Linked DNA regions of Homo sapiens: regions 1 and 2 are each linked to region 3. Evidence: promoter capture Hi-C in human tissues and cell types (Jung and others, 2019). All regions are on one chromosome and are shown on one strand. The core of a region is centred on a gene start or on the middle of the fragment in contact, and the rest is flanking DNA. Distances in the headings are between cores, read along the strand shown. Region 1 overlaps MPDZ (multiple PDZ domain crumbs cell polarity complex component). Region 2 overlaps MPDZ (multiple PDZ domain crumbs cell polarity complex component). Region 3 holds the start of CER1 (cerberus 1, DAN family BMP antagonist).

The links. Contacts are between HindIII fragments. The study calls those that stand out against the background at their distance.
Region 1: a fragment that was not itself captured here is called in contact with the fragment with the promoter of CER1 in region 3 in 1 of the 25 tissues and cell types used here (dorsolateral prefrontal cortex).
Region 2: a contact is called between a fragment that was not itself captured here and the fragment with the promoter of CER1 in region 3, in 1 of the 25 tissues and cell types used here (dorsolateral prefrontal cortex).

What each region holds. Positions count from the first base shown.
Region 1 is chr9:13,183,662-13,186,759 of GRCh38, reverse strand. It overlaps MPDZ (multiple PDZ domain crumbs cell polarity complex component), which reads left to right. Exons shown (of 47, transcript NM_001378778.1): 18 at 374-490. Among named protein-coding and RNA genes, the nearest start is that of MPDZ, 94 kb to the left of the region's middle. The HindIII fragment of the contact is 3,288 bases long and covers 1-3,088 here.
Region 2 is chr9:13,154,665-13,157,815 of GRCh38, reverse strand. The region is part of intron 24 of MPDZ (multiple PDZ domain crumbs cell polarity complex component); the gene reads left to right. Among named protein-coding and RNA genes, the nearest start is that of MPDZ, 120 kb to the left of the region's middle. The HindIII fragment of the contact is 5,916 bases long and covers 1-3,151 here.
Region 3 is chr9:14,721,403-14,724,658 of GRCh38, reverse strand. It overlaps CER1 (cerberus 1, DAN family BMP antagonist), which reads left to right and starts at 1,926. Exons shown (of 2, transcript NM_005454.3): 1 at 1,926-2,493. The coding sequence starts at 1,987. RefSeq lists enhancers at 901-1,838, 1,839-2,778. The HindIII fragment of the contact is 6,126 bases long and covers 1-3,067 here.

The DNA.
Region 1 (3,098 bases), core at 195-2,694, 1.5 Mb after region 3:
ATTAGGAAGTCATTGTTTGACCAGAATATTTTGCAGATAAAAATAACCGGAAGATTATTAGAATATTAAAAAAAAAATTCATTTAAAAAAATTCTTATAAGAAGAATGAAAAATTAGTAGAAAGGGATTCTCATCCAACAGGTGATTTTTATATTAGAGTAAATAATCCTCATTGTGTCTTATCAAATGAATGTCAAATATGAATATCAGATTGCATACTTACCATTCTATGTTGAAGTCATATCGTTTGAAAACTTTCCAATTTCTTTCTCTTCTCGCCCCCCTCACTTTTCCTACCTTTACTCTTCTTTTCCATTTTCTTTCTTCTTTGCTGTTCTCTCTCTTTTCCATGAATACCATTTTTTCCCTGCAGCTTTCACCAGAAGAAGGTTATGTTTCTGCTAAGGAGGATTCCTTTCTCTACCCACCACACTCCTGTGAGGAAGCAGGGCTGGCTGACAAACCCCTCTTCAGGGCTGACTTGGCTCTGGTTAGTGGCTATGACTTATCAAGCTTTCTTTCAGAAACCTGATATGTCTTACTTTGCCTTTCAAAATATTCTGAAGAAGTCTATTATATTCTTTGTTCATTATTATATTTGGAAAGATAAACATGTTTTCTCCAACTTAGTTCTCACAATTGAAAATGGGAAGAAAAACCATAATAAATATGAAAAACATTTGTGAGGAAAACTTAATTAACGTTGCATTGTAGCAGTATGTAGAATTAATCTTTGTGCCATATCTAAAGTTTGTGGAGCATTTGTTTGCTCCAATTTCACGCTTAGATATCTCTAGGCATTCTTTAACTGTGCTCAATATTCAGTCATAAATCACTGTTTTGGCTGTATTTAATGAGGTAATAGGTATCTTTTTTCCATTAGATATTAATAGTGTGAGAATCATATAAATTGGTTCAGTTATTAAGAACACCAGTTTTATGGAAAGGTAAACCCCATGTTTTCTATAAATACATATATGTAAGTATACTGATTTACCAGAAAAATTATAAATTAAAATTTTATTTCTGTTTGATGTTTAAAATAGTATCCATTGGAATAAAAGTATTTGCAGGCACTCTGCCCTTAAGAAACTTTTTCTTGTAGAGGGTACAATGCTATATCAATAACTAAAGGATAAAACTAAATACCAGGCATGAATATACATGTGACATTTACTCAACATAAATACAACAAATTGTACATCCTGTTCACATTACCCCTACTATTAGAGCTAGGTTCCTTACTCAACGTTTTTTGTGGGGCAAACATTGTGCACTGTTGCTAAAAAGGAATATACTTGCTTTTTAAATACTTGTTTGAGTTTCATTAGACTGGAGAAAGGTTTAAAACCTGTTAAATTCTTCATTATGTGTTTATAACTGCGCACATCTTGCTTTAAAACAGAGTGAATTATTTCTTTGACTATATATACATTTTGCTGATTGTAATTTCGGGGGAGACAATTCCTTTTGCTAATATTTTTAAATTGCAAGCTCTTGAAATAGCCATTTGAAAAGTTTTGGTATATGTTATAATAAATGCAATAATTTCACACTGTAATACTTAACATACCAGGTAACTTATGGCCCTGCTCTCCATGGGTATTATGTTAGCACTTCAAAACTAGATAGCTTAGTATATACAACGAATTACATACAGTACTGTGGTGTAAATAGTACCCAGCCATAGCAAATACTTTTTGAAATGTCACAGGATACAAATACTATATATGATTATTTCTAAAGTACCCGACGAAATAGCATTCTCTCTAGCCTTTACATGGCTTCCTTGAACCTCCTTAATGGATACCAATCAAAAGGAAGATTAGTTCCACTTTTATGTGAGCTTGGCATCTTATAATAGTAATATGCGTCCTGGGTCTTCTCCTTAGCCAGCTAAGTAATCTTGGACTGGTCACTCAATTTCTTTGAGTCTTAGTGTTTTATCTCTACAGTAAATAAATGAATTGATTGTTAATATCTCTCCTAAGATCCTAAGATATCAGCAATATACATACAAATTATATTGAGGTATTCTTTCATTAATGTTACTTAAATATGTATTGTAATCTATGACACAAGGCTTAGTTAATAGTGTCTATCTAGATTGTTGTATGTTATGTATATTTGTAAGGGTAAACCTCCACATAGTGACTCACTAGTGAATTTGAACATGTATTTAAAATATATTATTAGGCCTATGAAGTATATTTGAAGAGAAAATCACTTCAAAATGGCCCACAGGTATTTTTAATAGTTTTTTGTAAGAATGTGACCTGATATAATGTTATAATTCTTCTAACTTCTCCTGGGTAAGCAGTAAGTTGAAATTACAAAAAAAAAATTAGAACATATGGAATTTTGCCAAGATAGACAGAAAATGCTGGTAGTATCAGAGAAAGGTAGTATATATGTCAGTTCTGCCTATTCTCAGGTATGACTTTGAGTGAATTGCAAAAAGAACTTCAAGCTCATCATAATTTAAATATTAATCTTGATTCTGTGACAGAAGACAGCAATAGGATTATTAGAGAATATGTAGTGAAATTCTCTATCTCACTCTTTATGAGTTTTCTTACAAGTTTATAACTTAAAGCTTCACCATAACCAGATCATAATTAGGCCCCTTGTTTGTTAGTATAATTTTAGCATGAAATCACAGATTTTCTTTTTGGTTTCTGCAACTTGAATGGTTTTAAAATCTAGTTCAAGATAATTTAAACAAAATATATAGTTTTAGTGTGGCTTACAAATATATAATTGCCTAGCTGCCTCATTGAATAACAGTTTATTTTAGTTGACTAGGAAAAATTATGACACAATTTTATTATAAAATTGTAAGAGTTGGGCATGGGAACTGTAAGAAAGTAAATATTTTTCTTAACTATGGAACTGTTTAAACATAGACTTCATCCAGGCCCTTTGTTAATTGTTGCCTTTAGCCCTTTTATTGATGAAATAAAATAACCTTGTATGCCAGCACTTTCTGCTGTAGGTGGGCTATTTATCCTTGTTCTGCTGCATTAGCAGTGTCTGATGAGGGTTAAGAGGGCATATAGAAAATACAATAGATAAAAGAATGATACCAGTTTGCCTTT
Region 2 (3,151 bases), core at 249-2,748, 1.6 Mb after region 3:
TATCTGGCACATAGTAGGGACTAAATTAAAGAAAATTATTCATAGGTAGTTGGAATGGATAATACGTTCTGTAGAGTTTTATCTTAGGTATACCAAAAAGTATTCATTTAAATTTTACCTAGCATTTGTAGAAACTAGATAGGCAAACATATATATTCAGAACGTGTGTGTGTGTGTGTGTGTTTGTGTGTAAAAGTACCCTCATAGCCTTGTTACCACAGGCTGAGTTTATCCTAAGTCATAATCTGTCTAGCACCAGTTTCATGTATAATAGATAAGATGACATCCTCAAATATACTTAGATGTATCACGTGCATCACTAAAACATACTGATGTGTTTATGCTGAGTAAAATCAACTTTAGTTTAATAGGAATTTACTGAGTCCTGATTATGGACCTAGACTTAAAGCCAATGATTTTGTGAATAACAAGGAAATAAATAGAAGATGCAAATCCTGCCTCAAGGAACCTCTAATGTACTTGGCTGGGCAAGATGTAGAGACACATGAAACAATTTAAGAACACAAGGTATTTCACCTTAAGAGTAAAACATAGGTAATCAGTGGACATCCACCCCAAACAGACCTAAAGGTCACCATCACAATGTGATGCTTTGTGTTCAGTAAACATTAATATTTGTTACATAGTGAATAAATAAAATGCTCAAGAGAAGAATTTGTAATATTCGTAAATGCCAGTGCAATTTAATGACGTCCCCTGCCCACCAGTGATAACCTGCAGCCATCACATTTAAATATTTTTAAAATATAAAAAACACTATTTTATGTTGCTTTCAAAGAAGCAGCATGTATTTCCAGCCATCTAACATGAATTTCTTATTTGAATTTCATCAAAAGTCACTTAACTCACTTAAAAAATCCCAAGCTCTCTATAGTGCTGCCTACATTGAGAACAGGGTATAAGTGCTAGATCTGTGGCAGAAAATATATTCTGAGGTGTTAAGTGTCTTATTTATTTGTGGATAGAGGTAGAAATAAGTTAAATGAAACTGTTTTGTAGCAGGTAGTCATAGTGATAAACTTGAATTTTTTAGGAGGACAGTAATCACAGGAAAAAAAGATAGGTTGGTCAGTTTTAGTAACAATATTATGAGAGGAAAAGTAGATTTTAGAAGGTGATATAGTTTGGCTCTGTGTCCCCACCCAAATCTCATCTTGTAGCTCCCATAATTCCCACATGTTGTGGAAGGGGCCCTGTGGGAGATTGAATATGGGGGCAGGTCTTTCCCATGCTGTTCTCCTGATAGTAAATGGGCCTCAGGAGACCTGATGGTTTTAAAAACGGGAGTTGCCCTGCACAAGCTCTTTTATTTGCCTGCTGCCATCCACATAAGATGTGACTTGCTCCTCCTTGCCTCTGTCATGATTGTGAGGCTTCCCCAGCCATGTGGAACTGTAAGTACAATAAACCTCCTTCTTTTGTAAATTGCCCAGTCTCAGGTATTTCTTTATCAGCAGCATGAAAAAGGATTAATACAGAAGGCAGTATGCAAAATGGTTGGTGTCAGTAAGAGCCATGTTAGGATTTTGGCTCTGATACTTTCTAAGACAAGTTTCTTAATCTCTGCTAGGTCTCTGCTACTTTATCTGTAAAATGAGGTTAATAATAGAATCTTTTGAATTTGGGGGAAAATTCAGTGTCATCTAAAATCCTTAGCAGAGTGCCTGGCACATAGTGAGTCAGTGGTTGGCTTTGTCTATATTGATAAAATATTTGTCACTGGTACCTAAGCAAAGAGAAAGCCTTTGACACAGAAATCATGAAATTTTCTTATGAGAAAGAAGAACATAACTTCTGGACTGGAAAATTTTTATGCTTTTAACCTTCATGCAATCCTAAGATAGCTCTAAAGGTGCTAACAACCTTACGTGAAGAATACCTCCAAAGATTCCATAAATCCTTCTAAGAAGGTACTCTGTACTCACTAGTGTAGTGGTTCTCCTAGATTCACTAAGCTACTTCTAGGGGAAGTTCATAGAACATGAGAAGAAAGCTTAATGGAGTAACCAGAGCTTTTAATAAATTAGGAGTTAGTGTTGTGAACATGGTTCATAGCATTGAAAACATGATGGGACAGTCATTCATGAAATCAACAAAAATGTACTTTGTATGAAAATAGAGAATTTTTAGCAAAATATAAATTTTAAGATTATAAAATGGGCTGTATTTTATTTTGCATGTGATTTTCATTTTACACAATTGATATACTACTACATGTATTATTTTCCATTTTGCTTAATTTTTCTCTCAATTCTTGACGTTTTGTAAATCTATCAAGCTTGATACTTAAAGATCTAATTCATTCAATTTAGTTGTTGTGTTGCATTTCAATATGTGAATATACCATAGTTTATTCATTGTCAGATTCATATTAGATAGTTAATAGTTATTTGCTATTATAATAATTCTGTTCAGTAAATATATTTATTTCTTTATACTTACACATGAAAATTTATCTAGGGAATATATCCAGAAGTGGAATTGGAATTGCTGGCCTGTAAGTTTATATGCATTTTTTACTTTCAGTTGTCAAATTGCTTTTTAAGGTTGCTATACCAATTATTATTATTATTTTTCTGAGACAGAGTCTCACTCTGTTGCCAGGCTGGAATGCAGTGGCACGATCCTGGCTCACTGCAACCTCTGCCTCCCAGGTTAGAGCGAATTCTCCTGCCTCAGCCTCCTAAGTAGGTGGGACTACAGGTGCGCACCACCATGCCCAGCTAATTTTTGTATTTTTAGTAAAGATGGGGTTTCACCGTGTTGGCCAGGATGGTCTCGATTTCTTGACCTCATGATCCACCTGCCTTGGCTTCCCAAAGTGCTGGGATTACAGGCATGAGCTACCACACCTGGCTGCTATACCAATTTTTATTTCTATTTCCAATATATGAATGTTCCCTTTTCCCCACATTCTTGTTACCACATCATATGATCATTTTTTAAAAAGTTTTTTGTCAATCTAATGGGTGGAAAATGGTACTCTTTCTCAATAAACAAGGTGTGGTAGGTATAACAGGATTGATCAGATAGGGTGAACATTTGCTCATTTGTTGTATGGATTGAGTTTCAGTTTCATATCTTGCTTTCATTACTGCAGTAATCATCACCTTCATCACCACCACAACCA
Region 3 (3,256 bases), core at 677-3,176:
GTGACTAGCTCTGGAAAGCGTATAGCATTGGATGGCTGAGGGGAATTAAGAAATTCAAGTAGCAGTCAATTAAAAAAAAAAAGATGTTGACATAGCATGGTGGCTCACGCCTGTAATCCCAGCACTTTGGGAGGCAGAGGCAAGATGGTGGCTCAAGGCTAAGAGTTTCAGAGCAGCTTGGGCAACAGAGTGAGGCTCTGTTTCAACAACAACACAAAATTTTAAATAGCCAGGTGTGGTAGTGTGCCTGTAGTCCCAGCTACTCAGGAGGCTTGCTTGAGCCTAGGAGTTTGAGGTTACAGAGTGCTATGATTGCACCACTGCACTCCAGACTGGGCAACAGAGCAGAACCCTTTTCCTAAAATAAAAAAAAACAATGGCAAATACACATGCTTATTTATTATATATCAACAGCACCTTTCATTAATACTAGCACACGTTCCATAGATATTTGGTACAAGTACAATATATCTCCACTCATGGCATTCTGGTAAAGTGATGGTCCATGTTAAAAATAGCTCATTATCATGGGTAAAGGGACTTACTTAAGGCTTTATTTCATAGAAATCAGGCATGGCTATCAAGAAGAACAGAAATGCCTGGAAAACAGACTCCAGTGGGTCACTTCTTGGAAAGAAAGTTTAATCAGTATTGACAAAAAAGGGGGAACATGTTCCAGGACTATTTGTGTTATTGAAAGCAAGGAATATAGTGATTGAATTAAAAGGGGAGAAATAAAAGCAGATATTGCATTGCTTCCCAGTGGAAATACTGTTTGAATCATGTGGTAGGCTGATCGGACTCTATTCTGGGGTTTCAGTTTTCTGGACGTGTTTCTTTTTCGTATCCTAGGCTGATTCATGATAGTTTTGAATGATAGTTATTTTTCAATTTTTCCTTTGATCCCCGAAGACTCTTATTTGTGTCAATCTTTATTTAGCCTGGCCATCAATTAGTGTAAAACAAGGGGAGATGATGTGGATTCAATAAGGTAAGAAACTGACTAGCCAGCGTCACACACAAAGTTATCAAACCTGGTTCTTAGAATCCACGTTCTCATGTCTGGCTCTTTGTTCAAAGGGAAAAAAAAATCAATAGGATGGCTGGAGGGAGACATTTCCCTATCCTCATTGAAGACTGATGAGCTGTCAGTCTATTACGTGGTATCCTGTTGAGGAACATGTGAACAATTGGAAGAGTTTATCTGATGACTGACCAGTTGTGAAATTTAGCACCCATTAATTGATTCTTAATGTGAGAGGATTAACTTGGGAATTGTGAGTTTCTACGTGTGGAAAGGAAAACATATTCCCTTTACTCAGTTACTGTGCAAAAATCAATAACCCCAATTTGCATGTAAGTAAGAAACAATATGTCCCTTGCTCAAAAAAATTAACATCCTTCTAGCTCTTCCTTTCTTCTCCTTACAACTTTGATATACTTCTTCGTGTGTGTGTGTGTGTGTGTGTGTGTGTGTGTGTGTGTGTGTGTGTGAATAGCCTTCCTAAAGGCCTGGGCTTTTTCTAAATGTATGCCTTTAATTTTTATCCAAAAACTTCTCTTACAGCAACATGTCTTGTCTATTCTATTCCAGCACAAGGCAGATGCACAGCAAATGTGAGCTGACTCTAGTCCTTCTTCTGAAAACAGCCATGGGAAATTTAGGCAAAGAATGTGTTGTCTTTGCTAATACTGCTCTTTAAGCCCCAGACATAGCTAAACTCTTAGCTAATTACCCCCTGGGTCCCAGGCTTTCACTGGGGCCTTTTAAAATACACAAAACCAAAGTGACGGCAGGAGGCCATTAGCACTACATAATTCAAGCAAACAATAAATGTGTTTATTCTGCCTGGCTACTGACCACCTGCCTTCCCATCCCGCCAGGCAGGTATCTATATATACGATTTCCTTTTTCCCAGTCCTGCAGAGAATGAGCCTCTCCTTTGGGCCTCATCATTTACAAAAGAAGCTTGGGCCCCTGACAGCATGCATCTCCTCTTATTTCAGCTGCTGGTACTCCTGCCTCTAGGAAAGACCACACGGCACCAGGATGGCCGCCAGAATCAGAGTTCTCTTTCCCCCGTACTCCTGCCAAGGAATCAAAGAGAGCTTCCCACAGGCAACCATGAGGAAGCTGAGGAGAAGCCAGATCTGTTTGTCGCAGTGCCACACCTTGTAGCCACCAGCCCTGCAGGGGAAGGCCAGAGGCAGAGAGAGAAGATGCTGTCCAGATTTGGCAGGTTCTGGAAGAAGCCTGAGAGAGAAATGCATCCATCCAGGGACTCAGATAGTGAGCCCTTCCCACCTGGGACCCAGTCCCTCATCCAGCCGATAGATGGAATGAAAATGGAGAAATCTCCTCTTCGGGAAGAAGCCAAGAAATTCTGGCACCACTTCATGTTCAGAAAAACTCCGGCTTCTCAGGGGGTCATCTTGCCCATCAAAAGCCATGAAGTACATTGGGAGACCTGCAGGACAGTGCCCTTCAGCCAGGTATGTGTTCTGGGGGGAGAGCAGGTAAGAGTTTGCAGGTGGTAGTGGACAGCTGGGATGGATGGAGAGTAGGGGAAAAGGCTGTCAGGAGCCTGACTCTAGCTTAACTACAGATTTGGTCCTTGGGCATTCATCATAGGATTTGGCAAAGATTAAGTTTCCTTCTGGCCTTTCCATTTTTTCTTGGCATTGTGGAAATGCTGCAAGAATGATATGATGATACTGTCAATATCAGTAATCATTCATTCACACTGAAGACACAGAGCTCTGTTTTATTTATTTATTTTTGCATTGGAGGTGATCTACTCAGAGATATAAGTCAGACTGTACCCTCAGTTAGGAAACTGAGAATTTAGAGTAATCACCAGAACTCCTCTGTAGCTATCTTTCTGCACTCTATTAATATGTGGATGAGCAGGTCAACTCCATTTGTTGATAAAGTGGGGTGCATTGGACTCCTTCCCAAATACTCTCATATCCATTTACGATGGTCTTAATCCCCATAGTCCATACTTAATTACTTTATAGGTTTATGAGGGACTTCTTTAATAGCTTGCTAAAGCTATCCCACAACCTCAAAGTACGTTGAGGTTCTCAGGCAAAAGTTGTCATATCATTTCTAGTATTATGATAGCAAAAAAGTGATTTTCTTTCACTTATTTTCTCATATGAGCTTTTTAAAAAATCAATCTTGATGTGAGATCATATCTCCTCCCCTTAGAAGTACCTTTCTCCTGATTCATGTTGTGTTGGCTGATTTGTA